Linked DNA regions of Homo sapiens: regions 2, 3 and 4 are each linked to region 1. Evidence: promoter capture Hi-C in human tissues and cell types (Jung and others, 2019). All regions are on one chromosome and are shown on one strand. Each heading gives the region's core, a stretch centred on a gene start or on the middle of the fragment in contact. The rest is flanking DNA. Distances are from core to core; before and after follow the strand shown. Region 1 holds the start of SNRPB (small nuclear ribonucleoprotein polypeptides B and B1). Region 2 overlaps PTPRA (protein tyrosine phosphatase receptor type A). Region 3 overlaps STK35 (serine/threonine kinase 35). Region 4 holds the start of LOC124904859 (a long non-coding RNA gene).

Region 1 (3,557 bases), core at 445-2,944:
TGAGGAACAGCAAGGAGATTAGTGTGACTGGAGAAGGATGAATGAGGGCAATGTTGACGGAGATGAATGAGGTTGGAGAGGAGCGCAGAGCTAGATTTTATTCCATGTGTGCTGGGAAGTTTTTGGTAAGTGGAGACCAGGACATGACATCATCTGATATCCCAGTACGTTTAGAAGGATCCCTCTGGCTGCCGTGAGAACAAGAAAGGAAGCAAAGAGACAAGTTACGGGCTCGTTCAATGATCCAAGACAGAGACGATGGTGGCTATGACTAGAGTGGACGCAATGGAGTGGGTGACAACAATCATATTCAAGATAATTTGAAGGTGGGGGCCACAGGATTTGCTGATGAATTTGATTATTCGATGGCAGAGAAAGAGAAGAATGAAATATGCTTCAAATTTGTCATTTTCTTTTTTTTCTTTTTTAATCCAAGAAACTTCGGGGATGGGGAACACTGGTGAAGTGGTTTTAGAAACAGTGAATAGAATCAAGAATTCAGTTTTCAACATGTTAAATTTGGTATACCTATTAGACATTCACATCACGCTGGCAGCTGGATATAAAGGGCCAAGAGTTAAATGAAGAGACCAAGGTTAGAGGAACAAACTTGAAAGCCTTGGGTGTATATGCTGTATTTAAAAGTCATAGGAAGGGCCCAGTGTGATGGTTCACGCCTGTAATTCCAGCACTTTGGGAGGCCAAAGTGGGTGGATCAGGAGTTCGAGACCAGGAGTTGAGGTCAGGAGTTCGAGACCAGCCTGGCCAACATGGCAAAACCCCGTCTCTACTAAAAATACAAAAATTAGCCGAGTGTGGTGGCACAGGCCTGTATTCCCAGCTACTCGGGAGGCTGAGGCAGGAGAATCGCTTGAACCGGGGAGGCAGAGGTTGCAGTGAGCCGAGATTGTGCCACTGCACTCCAGCCTTGGTGACAGACTGAGACTCTGTCTCAAAAGAAAAAAAAAAGTCATAGAAAAAAAATAAATGTCATACGACTGGATGCGATTATCAGCAAATATGGGTAGAGCCCTTATTTTGTGCTAAAGTGTTCTAGGCACTACAGCAATGAGTAATACACAAAGAGAAAAATTCACACCCTTATGGATCTTACATTCTAATGGGGAGGGGATAATAAAATAACTAACAAAAATATACAGCGTGTTAGATAGCAAGAGGGAAATACAGGAGAGATGAGGATGAGGTGGGTGGGAAGGTTACAGGATGGCTAGGGAAATCCTCACTGGGAAAATGTTATTTAAGCTTAAACCTTGAAAGAGGTGAGGGCAGCAGCCTTCTGGTATACCTTGGGGACTACCATTCCAGGCAGAGGCGAAAGCAAATGCAGAGGGGCTGAAAAAGGAGCACGTCCAGCCAGTGGAGGGAAAAGCAAGAATAGTGACTGTAGAGGAGAGAGCCGGGGAGGGTGATGGGAAATGAGGACCGAGAGGTTAATGGGAAAGGCGGGGTGAAGAGAAATGAGTGTGACACAGAGCAGCTCTCAGTACGGATTTAAGCTAGGAAGGTGTCCAAACAGGAACTTAAGGCTCTCCTTACGTCAAAGCCGGATGTTAACGCCCAGTCCCCAGGCCCCGCCTCTGCTCGGCAGAAGCTCCGCTCCGGGGCCGGAACTCCAGGGCTAGTGAGCTGGACCGGAAGTAGGTTTCTACCCGACCGCATTTTACGTGGTGCTGCATTTCCGGTAGCGGCGGCGGGAAATCGGCTGTGGGAGAGAGGCTAGGCCTCTGAGGAGGCGAATCCGGCGGGTATCAGAGCCATCAGAACCGCCACCATGGTAAGGAGGGCACAGGCTGGCGGCGCGGGAGCTTCCGAGTCTGTTGTGGAGTGGGAACCGCGACTGATCGGGGAGGAAGCCGTGGGTTGGAGCCACTTAGGGCGGTGAAGGCCTGGGCCGAGGCCGCTCGGTCTGGGCGGGAAAGACCAGGACCTTGGCGGTTCGGCTAGGCATGGGGTCGAGGAAAAGGTTGGAACCGGTGTCGGAGGCCGAGGTCGCTCGGCAGGGGCGAGGGTAGAACCGCGGCTCTCGACACCGCTGTAGCCATAATTCCTGGGACCCAGTAGGCACTAAGTTAACTTTTGCCGAATAAATATATGTCCCGGGCTTCGGAGCAGGCACTGGAGCCGCAGGGGGACCCGGTAAAAGGCTCAGACTTGCGGAAGTTTGTGAGTCTGAGAAAGAGTTGGCGGAAGTGGGTGGAAGGGGCTCGTGGACCACGCTAGAGTCTCGCTAGGTCTGCTGGATGGAGAGGAGGGCGGAGGAGGGTGATGGCGAATGGAGGAAGAGCTCCACTCAGTTGCTCATCACGTTTCCGTGTTTGCCTGTGCCTGACTTCTCAGGCGCTGGGGCTACTCTCTGAAATATGTTTGCTTCCTTCACAGAGGTAGCTGGGGACACATAATATAATTCAGTGTGGTCATTCGGTAAAAGTAACGGCAGCGGGGCGGGGTAAGAATGTTTTCTCAAATAGATGGTTCCTGAGCAGATTCCTAAAAGATTAGCAAGAATGTTCCCGGCGAAAATGGGGGGAATATTACAGACCCGGAGAACTGAAGGAACAAAGGCTGAAGGGTAACAAGATTTAAAAAGTTACTGGATTTTTCTGCGTTTGTTGACTGAGAAAAAGTTGCTGGAGGAGAAAGGAAGAAAGAAGGGAAGACGGGAAGAATTGGCAGGAGGCTAGTTACTAAAGGCCTTGCATGTTAATTTTACCTCAGTGGTGGTGAGGCATGTCATTGAAGGATTTAATTTAATTTATTTTTATTTTTTTGAGACGGAGTTTTGCTTTTGTTGCCCAGGCTGGAGTGCGGTGGATCGATCAGGGTTCACTGCAAACTCCACCTCCCGGGTTCAAGCGATTCTCCTGCCTCAGCCTCCCAAGTAGCTGGGATTGTAGGTACCCGCCACCACACTTGGCTAATTTTTTGTATTTTTAGTAGAGACGGGGTTTCACCATGTTGGCCAGACTGGTCTCGAACTCCTGACCTCAGTTAATCCACCCACCTTGGCCTCCCAAAGTGCTGGGATTACAGCCGTGAGCCACCACACCCTGCCCACTGAAGGATTTTAACCAGCAAAATGACATAAGCTTAGTGGTGTTTAGAAAGATTGCTCTAGCTCTGGCATGTATATTCGATGGGACTGGAAGCAGGGAAACCTGGTAGGATATTGTTTGGATAACTGGTTAGAATAGGCGCTGGATTCATTTTGTCTAGGTTCCAACACAGCTTCCCAGCTGTGAAACTGGGCAAGTTACTTAACCTCTCCTAGCCTCAGTGACCTCATCTGTAAAATAGGGATAATAATGGGCCCAATTTTGGGGATTAAATGAGATGTACTGTGCTTATCACAGTGCCAGATACACAGTGAGCACCCAGTAAACATTAGTTGAGCTGGACCAGTGAATGTTGCCCTAAAGGTTCAGATCCCTTGTGGTTAGAAGCTGGTTAAAATGGTCATTGAATGGAAACTGAACCACCTAACCTGAGGGAGGCTCGCAGTATCTTTGTGTGGAGTCAAGTTTTGTTTTTGTTTTTTT
Region 2 (3,557 bases), core at 544-3,043, 420 kb before region 1:
AGACTGTAAAGTTGATCACATTTACTCAGCTTTTTTCTCTCTTCCCTCTCCCATCCTTTACACACTCTCCCCTGTTAAAATCAGAAAGGTAAAAAGTTATTCTGTGATAATTCAAATAATGCTACACTGTGCCCCAAATCAACTACTAGGGAGGGAAGACAGAGAATCAAGATCATTATATTTTCTAACATTTATTAAAGATTTACTATGTGCTAAGAACTGTGCTAAGCATTTACCACGCACTATCTAATGCTTAAAACAAACAAATACATAGAGTACTACAGCTGAACCCATTTACTAGGTGACAAAAGTGAGTCTCAGAAGAGCTAACTATTTTGCCCAAGTTCACAAAAAGCATGGCAGGCATGGAATATGAACCCTAGTCTATCCAACACCCAAAATTAAAATAACTGTAGGGCCTGACAAGGAATATATAAAAGAAACACAAAATCCAATTTGACCAGGAAAAAAAAAATTGATTGAAGGGTTATTTTTGAAGAAAAGGCCAGGCATGGTGGCTTATGCCTGTAATCCCAGCACTTGGGCAGGCTGAGGCGGGAGGACTGTTTGAGGCCAGGAATTTGAGATCATCCTAGGCTCATAGTGAGGCCTCATCTCTACAAAAAAAAAAAAAAAATCAAAAAATTAGCTGGGCATGATGACGTACATCTGTGGTCCCAGCTACTTACTCAGGAGGCTGAGGCGGGAGGATCACTTGAGCCCAGGAGGTCAAGGCTGCAGTGAGCCATGATTGCACCACTGCACACCAGCATGGGCAACCTACCAAGATCCTGTCTCAAAAAAAGGTATGGGGGGTTGCAAAACAAACTCTGAACATGGATTCCCCCTTTGATGCCACATTCAGGACTCTTAACATAAGGAAAGGCACAGCATCTCTTGAGTAGAATTATCCTGGAAACACAGACCCCTTAGTTCCCTTTCCCAGTCTCAAATCTCTGACCAATAATAACTGTATCATGATTCTGTATTTTTAATCTGATAACCATGGCTTTCTGAGATGATAAAACTGTCCTCCTTAATTGGGTAAGTGGCATCACAATCCCAGAAAGAAAAGACATGAGCAATAAAATGAGGTATGGTATATCAAACTCATGGTACTAGTAGTACTTTTGCGTTAAGTTTAGGGTATGTGTTTTTTAAATGTTGGTAATTCAGATTCAGCTAATGAAAAGCACTGGAAGTCTTAACCAAAACCTGTTTTACTACATTTACAAATTTAATTTCTTAGTATCACAGATTGCCCAAGAGCTTAAGAAGTTTCTGTTTAAGGTGGTAACTCTGACCTGTCAAGGACTGACTGTGCCTGACAGACTGACTGTGTAAATGTATTTTAAACATCTAAGGAAATTTAATTCACTAAGTAAGGGGCCTGGAGCAATTAAATCTGTTAAATTTATATTAACTTAATTGACAAGCAGGTGAAAATTACTATTCTTATTTCTATACAAAATGCCTATGCTTACAAGTACAATAACAAGACTAAAAGAAAACTGGGTTTTAAATTTACCACTTTAATACATGTTAATTTAAAGCCCAAATAATTTTAAAATAGTCCTTCTGTATACAAAAGCCCTTTTCCCACATCAAAAAACTTACACATGTAACTGAGCTGCTCTATTAACCACTACTTGCTCAACAAAAGCCCTCTTCAAAGTAGAACCTTTGAAAACTTACCAAGTACAACTGGATAAGTATGGATGGTTTAAGTAATCTCTCCCACTAACATTGGGGAAACCGAATTGAGCTCCACTTAAGATCCCACCCAAAGGTAAGAACATCTCATCTCAATCTGCTATAACATTCACCCCTTTTGATAAACATAAAACTCTCCTATCTTCCCTTATTGTTACTTGAAATACCAAACTTAAGTAACTTACATTTTATGAGCATGTAGTATTTCAGCATGGTTTCACAAGTATTGCTCATAGTACTTGTGGATGCCTATGGAAAGGGAAAGCTGAAAGGCAGGGGGAGAGAAAACTACCTTTTACTATATATACTATATATACTTTTAGAACTATTAACATGGACACATATTATTCAAATATATACATAATTTTAAATTAAGCAAAATTTTGAGACAAACACTAACAAACCTTTTTTTTTTTTAAATGCTTTTTCTTTTTGAGACAGGGGTCTCACTCTGCTGCCCAGGCTGGAGTGCTGTGGTATGTTCACTGCAGCCTTGATCTCCTGGGCTTAAGCAATCCTCCCACCTCAGCCTCCCAAGTAGCTAGGACTATGGGTGCATGCCATTACACCTGGCTAGCTTTTATTTTTCTGTAGAAGCAGGGTCTCACTATGTTGCCCAGGCTGGTCTCGAACTCCTGGGCTCAAGTGATCCTCCCATGTTGGCCTCCGAAAGTGCTAGGATTACAGGTGTGAGCCACCACACCTAGCCTGAAAATGCATTTTCAAACTTACGTCTTCCCCACCATGTCAGTCATATTGAGAATCACTGATTTAGGGGTTCACAACTGCTGCTGATGGCACTACTGCTCACTGGGCATGAAATACAGGAAGAAAAGGGGTTTTCTTTGTCTTCCACCAGCTGGTAGCAAGAACCTAGCCCAGGTATAGTCTCCCTGAGCTTCTTCTATTTCTCATCCGTGTTTGAGGGCTTTGAGGGACCATTCTAGCTAACACCCCAAACTGGGGAGAGAGAAATACTGGCTGGAAATCACTGTGAAATCTGTCCCTGTTAACAAAGTGGGCAGGCCCAAGAGGTAAGAGGCACTGGAAGGCAGTGATCTCACAGACAGCGTGAGCAGAGGCACTGAGTCAGGGACATTCACATCACTGGGGACATGGGAACCAGGAGAGCAGAAGTATCCCCGTAAAAGCTTGGGCCTCCAGTTCCTTTTAGACAGTGAAAGTCCTGGAACTATCCCACACTGCTCTGGTAACAGTGCTGCTAACATTATCAAAGGAAGACATTCTCTTTACTAATGGTAGTATCAATGCATTTACAATATTGTAATAAGCCACTTGTCAACCAATATTTGAAAATTAGTTGCTCGTTAAGCTATTTGTCAATCAATATTTAAGAACTACTTGCACAATTCACAGGGGCCAGGTTTCAACTTCTTCCCACACACAAAAGCTCAGTTCATTAACTAGCAATCATCTCTTCCAAAAAGCCAGAAATCTAGAACCCTAATGCCTCTACTGCTTAAATCATACTTGTCCATGTATCTCCATCCCTATCACCACTCCTCCCACCCTAAGCCAATCCAGAACACCATCATCACTGGCCACATTTGCTCTAATAAACATCAAATAAGTCTCTATACCCTGCCCAGTCCGTTCTCCACAAACAAACCTTTTACTGCACATCCACCAATAAATAAGAGTATACATCCCCAACACATGTTCATTTATAAACAGAACACAGGTACTAATACCTATAAATACTACAAAACATTTCAAATGAAATACATAATGATCACAATAATGGTACTTCCATCAATTAAAATAGTAATGTAAAACCCATCTTAAAAATATTTTAGTGCAATCCATATGATTAAATATTTCTC
Region 3 (3,557 bases), core at 676-3,175, 350 kb after region 1:
TTCAGCAGGCCTTAGCTGCCCACTCCAAAAAGACGTCATTCGAGGGCTTTGGCTTCAAAAGGCCCTAGTAACGGAGGTTTGTATATCAGACAGCAGACTTGGCCATGAATGCAGATTCCCTCATCCCACAACACTCTCCCTGGTAACACGTGGGCGGAGGCACCTGGAACATCAGTTTGGCTGGCTTCCTGCATGGGATAAAAGGCTGTGGCTAGCTGGTAGGAGCCATTAGGAATTATTAAACATCTTTCAAAAGCGACAAATAAGAAAGAGATCAGACCCATCACTGAATGGTCTTTAAAAATAGATATACTTTTCTGGAACAAGTGATTGGACAGCGTGGGCCTTGACTACAGCTTTGTTTCAAAAGAAAAGCTATTTGGCAATCCACAAAAGTGAGGCTACCAAAGACCACTGTCTTCAGAGGGAAATGGAAGCCAATACTTCTACCTAGGCCAAAGTATGGATCTAAACAATGCTACTGTATTACAATTAATTCAGACTGTTTACATAGGGCACTTTCACAACCTCTTGTGATTCCCCCAACAACCTCAATAAGATATATAGGATCAACTCCATTTTATAGATAATAAAACTGCGGCCCTGATAAGTGGAATAATTTGCCTAAGGCCACACAGTCAGGAAAACGCAGATATGAGACTCCATCCCTGCATTGTTACTAGACACCACTTCTTTCAGGGGAATCCCAGGTTTCCAACCCAAAATGCATTTCCTTTTATTTTTGCAAAAAAACTGAAACTAGTTAGTCCTGACTTAAATGCGACTCTGAAATCTACAATCCTAAAACATTGAGGTGTTTTTTCATCTTGGTGGTATAGGGGTCAAGTGTGTTTACTTATGCAACTAGAGTTTTTTTGTTTTTTTGAGACAGAGTCCCTCTCTGGCGCCCAGGCTGGAGTGCAGTGGTGTGATCCTGGCTCACTGCAACCTCTGCCTCCCTGGTTCAAGCAATTCTCCTGCCTCAGTCTCCCAAGTACTGGGCCTATGGCATGTGCCACCACACCTGGCTAATTTTTGTATTTTTAGTAGAGACCAGGTTTCACCATGTTGCCCAGGCTGGTCTCAAACTCGTGAGCTCAAACAATCTGCCCCTACTTGGCTTCCCAAAGTGCTGGGATTACAAGGCATGAGCTACCACGCCCAGCCTATTTTAATTTTTAATAGTACAAACATCCACAGATATAACCCAAAACAAAAGCTCTTTGGAGTCCGTAAATTCAAAAATGTAAAGAGGCTTTCAGACAAAATACTTTGACAACTACTGGTCTATTCTTCCACTGTCTCCAATTCCTCTCCTCTTCCCCTCTCAAATCCACTCTAGTTACAGGTTTCCCCATTACTCCACCAAAATTGTTCATGAGTACTGATGCTTTCCCATTTACTAAATCCAATGATCAAGTCCTCTCAATCAACTAGCAGATGATGCCACGGCTGGCTCCCTCCTCCTCTTGATGTCTTTTCCCCTCTCTCTGGCTCCTTTCTTTCTTCCCATCCTCAATGTTGCACCACCTGGAGCTCAGTCCTCTGACCTCCTCTTGTCTATACCCACTCCAGTACTGTGGCAAATCTCTAAATTTGTATCTCTAGGCTGGACCCCTCCCTTGAACTCCAGACTCATCCAACTGCCTACTCTACATCTGTAGTTGGATTCTAAATAGGCATGCCAAACTTTCAGATAACTAAAACCTAACTTTGTCCTGCCAACCCTATTCCCCCAATGTCTTCCCCATCTTATTTAATGGCAGCTCTATTCTTCCCATCACTTAGGCTGACACCTTGAAGTGATGATTAATTCCTTTCTCTCACACCTCCCATATGATCCGGCCGGAAATCCTGCTGGCTCTGACTTCAAAAAAATACCCAAAATCCAATAATCACTTCTCTGTTACATTGTTTCAAGCCATCGTCATCTCTCACCTGGATTATTGCAACAGCCTCCCATCTTATCCCGTTATTTCAAGATGCAAAGTGATCCTTTCAAAAGAGCAGATATCACACAGCTGAAAACATCCCCATGGCTTTCCATCTCATCCAAAAACACAAGCCAAAATCTCTAGAGGCTTACGAGGCCTACTTGGCTCCTAGTTATCTATCTCTTCCTATACACTCCTTGCTCACTCTGGCCAACTTTCAGGACCTTCACAGTGGCCATTACTTCTGTCTGAGATGCTCTTTCCCCAGAAATCCTTGGGACTCACTCCCTCGACTCCTTCTAACATTCGCTCAAAGGTCACCGTCTCTGGGAGACCCACTCTGATATCTTCCATTTAAAAGTACATCCCCACCCCTCCCCACCACCCAAGCTTCAGATCTCCCCTACCCTGCTCTACTCTTCCCATCCTACCCTCTCACCGCACCCAGCACCGAGCACTTTCTTGTACATTACCTATGGGTACTGTCTTCCCAACAGAACGAATGTTAAGCTCCATACTGCAAAAACTTGTCTGTTTTGTTCACCGATGTATTATCTGTGTCTAAAATGGTACTTGGAAAGAGTTTCCAAAGAACATGTTGAATGAATAAATGAAATTAGCTTGTCCATCTACAAAACTTGGCAGGGGAAAGGGAGGTCAGACTCAATGTTCTTCCCAAGTCAAGCCTCAGATTCTCTGACCAGCCAGATACAGCTCTTCTACAGAAGCTGATTTGAAGTTTCTGGCAACACAGGGTTTGGCTCTGGTCACAGACCTGGGCCCAGGCCCACAATTCTAAGTGCCCACCTAAGACAGGGGAGGATAGGCTATGGTCAAATTGGCACCACCAGTACTGTAAAGATTAGCTGTAAGAGCCACAAAATGAATTAACAAAACAGCCTGGGACACTCACCAGTAACCATATTCCTAATCTTTTCCCCTCTTCTCAAGGTCGCCTATTTCTCCTACATGAAAGAATCACTCCAATTTAGCCAAAACTGCCCTGCAAAACAGCACAAATCTCAAGTGTGGATATCCACATGGAAGCCCTGATCTCAATTAGTTATGACAACCCCATAATCGTAACCTAAATTCAGGTCCCTCTTCCAATGACAACCTTCCTATGCCAGAGCAAATCTGAATTTTAAGAGGTCTTTCAAAAGCAGAAAGCATGAGATGGAAATGGGAAGTGACAGCACAAAATACATTTAAAACACTGTCTAGCCAACCCTTTTGGTTTCTAATATAGCACTACCCTAAACCTAGCTTTGGGGACTGCTGTTCTCCTACCCACGGGTGGTAGGCCCAATTGGTCCAGCACCTGGAACACACGTTTGTAGAATGAAAGAATTAAACCTAAGTGACTCACTCGAGAAATACATTCACTGAGAACACTACACATGAAACCAAGCTCAACTTGGAATGAGCCAACCCCACCTAGAAACCAGAGGATAATGAAGGGAAAGGGAGGGAACCCACCCAAGTGATGGAAAGCTCCGTGCCTTATGGCTCCTGAGGCTTCTTGTGACCACCAGGAGGATCAGCACTAGCTCCATCACCTCATCAAGACTTCAGCACAACGTAAGAGCAGCTTACTTCTAGCTCACCATATTAAGGGAAAAG
Region 4 (3,557 bases), core at 454-2,953, 300 kb after region 1:
ACGAAAACTCTAACTTAAAATGCTTTATACTGATGGTTTTCCAAGTGTGGTTCCCAGACCAGCTGGCATCAGCATCACCTTGTTAGAAAGGCCAGTTCTTGGCTTTACCTACTGAATCAGAAATTCTGGGGGTGGAGTTCAACCACCTGTGCTTTAACAGGTGATGTTAATGCCCACTCCAGTTTGAGATCCACTGCCTTAAGCAGTAAAGATGTCTATCATCACACAAATCAAGACGCCCAGGGTTGGTTATCTCAGTGGCCCAATGACTATAGGGTCCCAGGTTATGCCTGTCTTCCCATTCCTCCATCCTCAGTGTGTGGGCCTCTGACTTCAGGCTTGGACTCTCCCAATCACTAGGTGGCTGCTCCATCCACAGCTTCACCATGACTTCAAGAAGCAGAGGAGATGGACTCCCCGGACATCCCTTTTCATCAGTGAGAAAATCTTGCCTGGAAGTTCCCTAGCAGACATCCCCTCATATCTCATTGGCCAGAATTGGGCTGTGTTCCCTCCTCAAACCAATCACTGCCAAACCAATCACTGGGAAATGGAGTTATGATTAGTTAGGAGTAATCTTCAGCTACAGAGAGGAAATACAACCTAGTAACACAAAGGCACAGGTCCTTTGCAGCAACCTGGATGGAGCTGGATACCATTATTGTAAGTAAAGCAACTCAGGAATGGAAAACCAAACATTGTATCTTCTCACTGATAAGTGGGGGCTAAGCTGTGAGGACAGAAAGGGATAAGAATGATACAATGGACTATGGGGACTCGGGGAAGGGTGGGAGGGGTGAGGGACAAACGACTAACCACTGGGTACAGTATACGCTGCTCGGGTGATGGGTGCACCAAAATCTCAGAAATCACAACTAAAGAACTTCTTCATGTAACCAAATACCACCTGTTCCCCCAAAACTTTCAAAATAATAATAATAATAATAAAGCTGAAACAAAAAACACAGCTCCTGGAGCCCCTTCCTCTTCAAATCCTAGTTTTGCCATTTACTAGCTTCCTGACCTTCATCTAATTACTAAACCTGCTGGGTGTGGTGGCTCACGCCTGTAATTCCAACACTTTGGGAGGCCAAGGCAGGAGGACGGCTTAAGCCCAGGAGTTCAAGACCTGCTCTGGCAACATAGCAAGATCCCATATGTACAAAATATATATATATATGTTTTTTAATTAGCTAGGCATGGTGGTGCACACCTGTTTTTTAAAAAATTACTTAACCTGTGTGCCTCAGTTTTCACATCTGTAAAATGGACATAATAATATTTATCTCAGGAGTGTCAGGAGGACTAAGTGGATTCATATTTGTAAAGCACCTAAGACAATACTTGGCTATAGAAGAATTTGTTAAAGAAATATCATATGTAGTTCTTTATCTTGCTTTTTTGTAACTTAACTATGGGGCTTGGAGATCATCCAGTAACAATACAGAGGCCACTTCCTCATTCTCCTTTTTATTGTTATTATTGTTGTAGGATATTCCATTTCATGAGTGTATATAATTTATTCAATAATTGTTTTAATTTATTTGCAATTACAGAGTTGCAGCGGATAAGCTTGTCATGTTGTTTCATGTGTGTGAGTATCTATTGTAGGACAAAATCCTATAAATACAATTGCTGGGTTGAAGGATTTGTGAATTTGTAATTTGATAGACATTGCCACATTGCCTTCCATAGAACGTTACGCCAATTTACACTCCCACCAGCAGTGCATAAAGGTGCACGCCTCTCCACAGCCTCACCACCAGAGTAGTTACCATTTCACCACACCCCTCCACCCATGACAATCCGTGTGTGTTGTTGCCTTCAATTGCCCAGGAAGAAATAGACCCACGAGGAAAGACAACTTGGCTGAGACGGATCAGTGAGCTGCAGGAAGTCCCAGATGAGGACCCTCCTCAATCCCAGTACCACACTTCACAGTTTACAAAGCACTTCCCGTCCTACAGTAGACCATCCCTTGGGTCCCATACTGTGTACAGCAGCTCCCAGGATGCTCTCACTCCCAGCAGCCAGCACCTGTGTCTTTCAGAGGACAGTTCGTAGCCTGCTCGACCCAGCTTTGCCTGTACGTATGGAGAGCTGGAAGTGCCTGGAAAGGTATGTCCTCCAGAGGGGAATTTACTCCCTCTAATTACCAATGAGCACAGGAGTATGAATACCCCAGCTCCCTTGCCCCCCAAATGGGCCAACTCTGAGGTATGACTTATGCCACCTCCTTTGCAGGACAGACCTGGTGGGGCATGGTCTTGCTGGCCCTGCCTGCTTCCCCTTCCTCTAGCTGTTCCTGGAAATACTTCACACACAGTAAGTCATTTTCACAGGAATCCTTGGTTCAGGGTCAACTTCTGGAGATCCCAACCTAAGACACCTCCATGGTCTCCTTCATGCTTCCCTGTCATTGGACCCATTGTACAGATGAGAATACAGTGGCCAGTTAGAATTGACACAGCTACCAAGTGGCTGTGGTGGGGACTAGTACCTAGGACTTCTAGCTCCTCATCCATGTTCCTTCAAAGGAAGGACCGTAACTCCAGCCAGAGCTGAAAATGAAATCTGTCTCTTTTTTCTTCTCACCTCCTGAATGCAGTAAATTCATGAACACCTGCCCGTGTGTGCATCTCTCCATATGGTGTGTCCCTGGGCCTCTGCCTCTTCTCGTCTCCAAAGTGAGTATGCTGTCTGATACTAAAATCGGTTCAGTATTTCATGTGGGTCACATCCTACATGTTGAGTTTGACTATAATTGCGCCAGGCAGACCATAATACATTTATTTAACACTAACATACTTTAAATTCGGACCTCTTGCATGTTATTTGCATCTATTTGATTGGGGAGGGGAATGAACAGATACACCTCCTGCGTTGGTCAAGTTGGCCTCTCATGACCTAGGATGGGAGCTGAGGACCAACAGGCTTGCCCCTGTCCCAGGGTCTGTACTTAAATCAGTGGCTTAGTTGACTCCCACCCTGCTCTGTCTACATACAGGGCAGAAGCTAAGGCGCCTATGTGAGCCTTATGTTGCCCCAGGGCTCACCTTGCCTAGGACTGGGGTGATGCCTCCTCTGTGTCCAAATGTCCACTCCCACACATGTCACTCGAGGCCATGAGCTCCATGAAGTCCAACAGCACCTCTGGTCACTGCTGCATTCCCAGGGCCCGGCATGCAAAAGATGTTTAAAGCACATTTTGGTCAGATGAATGAATGAATGAACGAATGAGTGAATGCATGAATGCACACCGGCTGGTTCATCTTTCCAAAGCACAGTTCGGATCCTGTCCCTCTCTTGCTCAGAAACTCTTAGTGGCTCCCAACGACTGCAGGATAAAACCCAAGGCTTCATTCTGGCATTCAAGGCCCTTTATACCGTGTTCCAAACCTATGAATGTACAAAAAATTATTGCACATGATTCGTGTCAGACCTGTGACAATGATCCTGAAACTGAGCCTTGGAGAGGGAAAGAGGTGAATGCTCTTACCTGCGTCAGTTTCCTCCCCTCCCCTCCCCTCCCCTCCCTCCCTTCCTTCCTTCCTTCC

Evidence for each region. Contacts are between HindIII fragments. The study calls those that stand out against the background at their distance.
Region 2: a fragment that was not itself captured here is called in contact with the fragment with the promoter of SNRPB in region 1 in 1 of the 25 tissues and cell types used here (hippocampus).
Region 3: a fragment that was not itself captured here is called in contact with the fragment with the promoter of SNRPB in region 1 in 1 of the 25 tissues and cell types used here (lymphoblastoid cells).
Region 4: a contact is called between a fragment that was not itself captured here and the fragment with the promoter of SNRPB in region 1, in 2 of the 25 tissues and cell types used here (IMR-90 fibroblasts and lymphoblastoid cells).

Annotation. Positions count from the first base shown.
Region 1 is chr20:2,468,926-2,472,482 of GRCh38, reverse strand. SNRPB (small nuclear ribonucleoprotein polypeptides B and B1) reads left to right here and starts at 1,694. Exons shown (of 7, transcript NM_003091.4): 1 at 1,694-1,795. The coding sequence starts at 1,793. RefSeq lists enhancers at 1,685-1,734, 1,745-1,794, 1,955-2,074. The HindIII fragment of the contact is 7,557 bases long and covers 1-3,557 here.
Region 2 is chr20:2,887,143-2,890,699 of GRCh38, reverse strand. The region is part of intron 1 of PTPRA (protein tyrosine phosphatase receptor type A); the gene reads right to left. Among named protein-coding and RNA genes, the nearest start is that of PTPRA, 15 kb to the right of the region's middle. The HindIII fragment of the contact is 7,740 bases long and covers 1-3,557 here.
Region 3 is chr20:2,119,660-2,123,216 of GRCh38, reverse strand. All of the region lies in intron 3 of STK35 (serine/threonine kinase 35), which reads right to left. It overlaps LOC124900458 (a long non-coding RNA gene), which reads right to left. Exons shown (of 2, transcript XR_007067499.1): 1 at 1-3,557. Among named protein-coding and RNA genes, the nearest start is that of STK35, 20 kb to the right of the region's middle. The HindIII fragment of the contact is 6,505 bases long and covers 1-3,557 here.
Region 4 is chr20:2,172,910-2,176,466 of GRCh38, reverse strand. LOC124904859 (a long non-coding RNA gene) reads right to left here and starts at 3,292. Exons shown (of 2, transcript XR_007067500.1): 1 at 3,057-3,292. The HindIII fragment of the contact is 5,428 bases long and covers 1-3,557 here.